Linked DNA regions of Homo sapiens: region 1 is linked to region 2. The links are contacts of gene promoters, found by promoter capture Hi-C in human tissues and cell types (Jung and others, 2019). All regions are on one chromosome and are shown on one strand. Each heading gives the region's core, a stretch centred on a gene start or on the middle of the fragment in contact. The rest is flanking DNA. Distances are from core to core; before and after follow the strand shown. Region 1 has its middle 24 kb from the start of PRF1. Region 2 holds the start of SGPL1 (sphingosine-1-phosphate lyase 1).

Region 1 (2,700 bases), core at 176-2,675, 240 kb before region 2:
CACTCCCTCCCTTCCTCGCTTCCTTCCTCGCTTCCTTCCTCTCTCCCTCCCTCTCTCTCTTTCTCTCTTTCTTTCTTTCTTTCTTTCTTTCTTTCTTTCTTTCTTTCTTTCTTTCTCTCTCTCTCTTTTTCTTTCTTTCTCTCTCTCTCTTTTTCTTTCTTTCTGCCTTTCTCCTTTTCTTCTCCCTTTCTCCCTTTCTCTTTCTTTTCTTTTCTTTTTCTTTTTTAAATTCTATGCTGCTTCTGGGTCAGGGTCTTACTTTATCACCCAGGCTAGAGTGCAGTGGTGCAATCATAACTCACTGCACCCTCGACCTCCTAGGCTCAAGTGATTCTCCCACCTCAGCCTCCAGAGCTGGAACTATAGGCATATGCCACCACACTCGGCTAATTTTTGAATTTTCTTTTTTTTGTAGAGATGGGGTCTCACTATGTTGGCCAGGCTTGTCTTGAACTTCTGGGCTCAAGTGATTCTCCCACCTCAGTCTCCCAAAGTGTTGGGATTACAGGGTGAGCCACCACACTTGACCCCTTTCCTATTGATTTGTTAAGATGATAACTTTATCATATATGTTGCATTTATTTTTTAGCTTTAAAATACCATTAGATATACATGCTGTCTTAGAGCCTGTCCTCTCCATTCCTGTGTGTCTCAGTCTATGCTGGAGCTGACCTAGCTTCAGATCAATAACCTTTGCTTATTTTATGATGTCCTTTATTAGATTACTTACTTTGTCAAGCATTATATCTGGTTTCTTTTACAGTCATCATCTCGTTCAACCCTCCAACAATACCACAAGGTGTTATTTTACAGCTAGAGATACCCGTGTCTGATGCCAAATCCTTGCTTGTTTCAGGGCTGGATATGGTAATCCTCTCTGCCATTTTCGATGACAGGTTGAGAGGAGAGAAAGGTAGATCCTGGAAGAGTGCCCAGGCTGGGGTGACTCGGGGAGGAGACTAAGGGGAAAGCATGATGACTTTGAAAGCCCTCCGTCAAATTCTTGTGGTTCTCTGACTTGATGTTATTTAAACCCCTGTGTACTTTCAAGAGGTTCCCCTCTACAGCCACAAGAATGGGAAATGGCTTGTGTTCTCTGAGTCACACTGGTAGATTATCTATGGGCCTTCTGAGTTTCACTTTGCACCCCCTCTTGGCTATTCTTTCCTTTTCCCACATCCGCCCACCTCACCATCAACAAACCTGCACAGTGTCTTTGCCCTTCAAAAGTAATTGTTATTCTTTCTTTGAACTAAATGACGGCATCTAAGCTGAATTAAACACTCATAGCCTTTCACAGTTTATGAAAGTATCCATTTCCCCATTCCTGCCTTAACATTTGAGGTCGCCAATCCTTTTAATTTTTGCCAATCTGATAAGAAAGAAAGTCTTTTATTTTTACCTTAACTCGACTTTTCCAGATTAGTAATGAGGTTGGAACATCCTTTCATATGTTTACTGGCCATTTGAATTTATTCTGTTATGTATATGCCCATTTTTCTGCTAGATTGTCTTTTTTTAATTAACAGGCATAAAATTTTAATATAATTTGTTTTGTGGGTAGGTAGATAGATATACAGTCAGTTCTTTCTCCCAGTTTGTCTCAGGTCTTGTAACGTTTTTAGTGTATTTTTTCATAGAGAAGTTGTTCAATTTATACATGGTGTGTTTTTTGACTTGTGTAAGCAAGCCTTCCCTACCCAAGGTTCTAGATCTCTTTCCTATGTTTTCTTTGAATATTTCTACAGTGTTGTCTTTTATGTTTAATGCTTTAATTCATCTGGAATAAACTTTTGTGAATGACATGAGATAGTGTATTTTTTTTTTCCAAAATGGATATCCAGTTGGCCCACATTTATTATTATTTGTTATTATTATTTTAGAGATGGGATCTTGCTATGTTGCTCAGGCTGGTGTTGACCTCTTGGCCTCAAGCAGTCCTCCTGCCTCAGCCTCCCAAGTAGCTGGGACCACAGGCATGTGCCACTGCACCAGGCTGGCCTACATTATTTATGGAATAGCCACATTTCCCCCTTACTGGAACTATGGTTTTCATCATATGTGAAGTAAGCACTTATACCTGAGTCCATAGAGTAGACACGGGGTTGTTGTTGCTCCTGGCCTCCATTCATCCTTCTGGTAACCATGTCTGATTTTCCCCATCCCCAGCAGGAACAAGAACCAAGGCTTGAGCCAATTTGTGCATCTCATTGTCCTGGCACTGCCATTGGCCCAGGGCTGGCCATGTGACTCAGCCGGCCAATTACACCCAATCAGAGCTTATCCCTGGCATTTTTCTGAGTGACTGGAAGAGTGTTAACTATTCTTGTGGAACTTAAAAGGGAGAGGCCAGACGTGGCTACAGTTGTCACACAGCCACAAGGTGAAAACAAATATGAAAATGAAACCAACACACCAAGGCCAGTGGAATTGAGCTGAGGCAACTGCTGTTGCCCTTTAGCTGCTGTACCCCATCATGTCTAGAGCCAGGTTACCCCTATGCCCACAAAACTTTTAACTGACAACCCAGATCCTTTTGTGCTTAAGTGAGCTGGGTTGGGTTTTCTGTCATTGCAAGGCAGACATATTCTATATGTGTACTCTAGTCTCTCCATTGATTTTTTTCGAGGTCTTCTCAAGTTCTTGTTCTTTCTCCCTTCCTCCTTCTGTCTCCCATCCTCATTCTCTCCTTCTTTCATT
Region 2 (2,700 bases), core at 10-2,509:
TTCTGACCCTCAAACACTGAGAATGCATGTCTGCTGGGGAATAGTAGTGAGGGGGCTAAGGGTATGGGGGTGTTCATGCCTGAGTCAGGGGCTCTGGATGGTAGAAATGTCTGGGAGTTCTGACGGAATGGGGGTGAGGAGGCCTAAAGATAACCTGTTCATAGTCTTTCAGGGCCTTAACCATTATGGCTGGGGAAGTGGGAAGTGCCGATGGGGTATGCAGAGGAGGGCAGCTGTGATAGTACATTTCATCCTGAAAGCACTACATGTGGATAATGACGGTAGTGATGATGCCCTAATTTTAGTGTCATGGCAACATTTTCCAAGGGGATGGAATTGGGTACCCTCATTAGTGTCATTTTTGTTTGAGAGATTTCAAGAGTCTATCTAGGTGTCATTTTAAAATCTATTGAAAAAAAATCTTGAATGCAGGTCACTGACCAGTTGGTTCCATGTAACTGCACTGCCTTCTGCTACCACTAAAGCAATGTTATGACAACCTGGACAAGTCATGGGAAACCTATGTGAGACTTAGTTTTTTCTTTTTCTTTTTGGAGTTGGGGGTCTCACTATGTTGCTCAGGCTGATCTAGAGCTCCTGGGCTCAGACAACCCTCCCGCCTCAGCATCCCCAAGTGCCGGGATTACCGATGTAAGCCACTACACCCAGCTGAGACTTAGTTTTTTCATCTGGAAATGAAGGCGACCTTTGTGATCCCAGTGGGCCCTTGCACTTGTGTATAAGGTGATTCCCAGCACTGCTCATGAAAGTAGTGATGGCAGAGTAGCCTCTGCTCTCCATTTTATTTTTGGGGTGGGGGGGGGCAGTGGTGGAGGGGAGGATGAGGATGATATTTCCATTAAATAAGTTTCCTTGTTGCTTTTCTTCAGGCACCACTGACCTCGATGGAAAAATGAAGTCCCTGGCCCAGGAAAGAGACCCAACTCTGTGGCTGTTTTGGATTAGTTTGTACAATGCCCTGCAGACCTACTCTCTCAGGAGGCTCCAAGTGACCAAATGTGACAAGAAAGTTTTTTGTCCAAGGCAGTTTGGAAGAGAAGTTGGTGACCGTCGGGATACCACAGCCGCCCCAGGACGGCCTGGTTGAGACATTCACTGGAGGGTCTGGGTGCAGCCCGCTGCCTGGCCGGTAGGCGGCGCGCACAGGCCGTGGGGCCCGGGTCTGGGCGTGCGCGCGGCTGGTAGCAGCGGGGCCGCGCACGCCAGGGTCCGGGAGCCGGGCCGGTGCCCCCGGAGCCATTTCCGGGAGGGGCGAGGCCGGCGGCTGCCGGGCCTCCAATCTCGGCGGCGGCGGCGGCAACAGGGGAGCCTGGGTCTCGCGGCCTGCGAGTCCGTCGCGTGCTGAGGGAGACGCAGGAGGTGGAGCCGGCCGGGTGCTCGAGGGAAGGAGACTGGAAGCTGGTTCCGGCGTGAGGAGGTGGAGGGGCCGCCGCGGGCTCCGGGGGGCGGTGAGGGTCGGGACGGAGGCGCCGCGGGGTGAGGAGAGGACAGGGGCCGGGTGGGCCGAGGGCGGGCAGAGGCGGCGGGGCGGCTGCGGCCGGGGCGGGGGCGGGGGCGGGCTGAAGGCGTGGGCACCAGCCGCTGAGGTCCAAGCAAGTGGACGGCGGGCGGGCGCGGGGCCGCGGTGGGGCGGGTCTGGAGCCCACGCCTGCCGCGGGGTAGGCATGGGCGGCCAGGATTTGCTGGTCCTCCGACGGGAGGGGTGACAACGAGAGCGAGGCCGTGCTGATTCTGAAGGGAGTGCGGAGGAGGCAGGACCCTGGTAGCCTCGGCACCTTCAGCCCGGGTTAGGTGGCCTGGGCTGGGCTCCCCACCCCGATCGCGCGCAGACGGGGCGTTTCCCCTAGTTTCCACCTGGGTGGAATGCTTTGTGGGAGTCTGGGTCTGGATTAGTTTCATCAGCTGTGGGAGGGAAACCTAGTTGCAGCAGGATTTTGATTCGCTGGTCTGGGGTGCTAGGGGTGGACTGTGATATCTGGGAATGAAATCTGAGCCTTCAAAGGAGGGAGAGAACCATAACTTGGCTGCTCTGGCGAATCTAGGCGGGCTGGCGAGACAGTTTAAAGCTCTAGAAGTAAACAAACCTGGTTCCCTTTTACAGAGTCTGAAAAAGGGGAGCGCGGAGAGGAGGCTGGAAGAGGAAGATGCCTAGCACAGACCTTCTGATGTTGGTGAGCCTTTTGCAGACATCCTCCTGGTTCCAAGGCATTTGTCTCCGTTTTTTTAGTCCAAAGGATCCCAGTGTGTAGATTTCACCTCTGATGCTTGCTTTTGGTAGCTGAGCGTTTTGCCACCTTTTATTTTGTTTTGTTTTGTTTTGTTTTTTTGGAGACGGAGTCTCACTCTGTTGCCCAGACTGGGGTGCAGTGGCATGATCTCGGCTCACCGCCACCTCTGCCTCCTGGGTTCAAGCGATTCTCCTGCCTCAGCCTCCTGAGTAGCTGGGATTACAGGCGCACGCCACCACGCCCGGCTAATTTTTGTATTTTTAGTAGAGACGGGGTTCTCCATGTTGGCCAGGCTGGCCTTGAACTCCTGACCTGTGGTGATCCACCCGCCTTGGCCTCCCGAAGTGCTGGGATTCCAGGCGTGAGCCACCGCGCCTGGCCAACCACCTTTTATTTTGGATGAATGATCAGGATGAATAAATAGCTGAATTAAATACATCAATACAGTATA

Evidence for each region. The method cuts DNA at HindIII sites, captures the fragments that hold promoters and counts their contacts. A contact is called where the count stands out against the background at its distance.
Region 1: a fragment that was not itself captured here is called in contact with the fragment with the promoter of SGPL1 in region 2 in 2 of the 25 tissues and cell types used here (IMR-90 fibroblasts and mesendoderm cells).

The regions. Positions count from the first base shown.
Region 1 is chr10:70,577,497-70,580,196 of GRCh38, forward strand. No RefSeq gene overlaps it. Among named protein-coding and RNA genes, the nearest start is that of PRF1, 24 kb to the right of the region's middle. The HindIII fragment of the contact is 7,004 bases long and covers 1-2,700 here.
Region 2 is chr10:70,814,689-70,817,388 of GRCh38, forward strand. It overlaps SGPL1 (sphingosine-1-phosphate lyase 1), which reads left to right and starts at 1,260. Exons shown (of 15, transcript NM_003901.4): 1 at 1,260-1,438; 2 at 2,123-2,192. The coding sequence starts at 2,166. RefSeq lists silencers at 1,056-1,375, 1,396-1,485, 1,566-1,675. The HindIII fragment of the contact is 13,423 bases long and covers 1-2,700 here.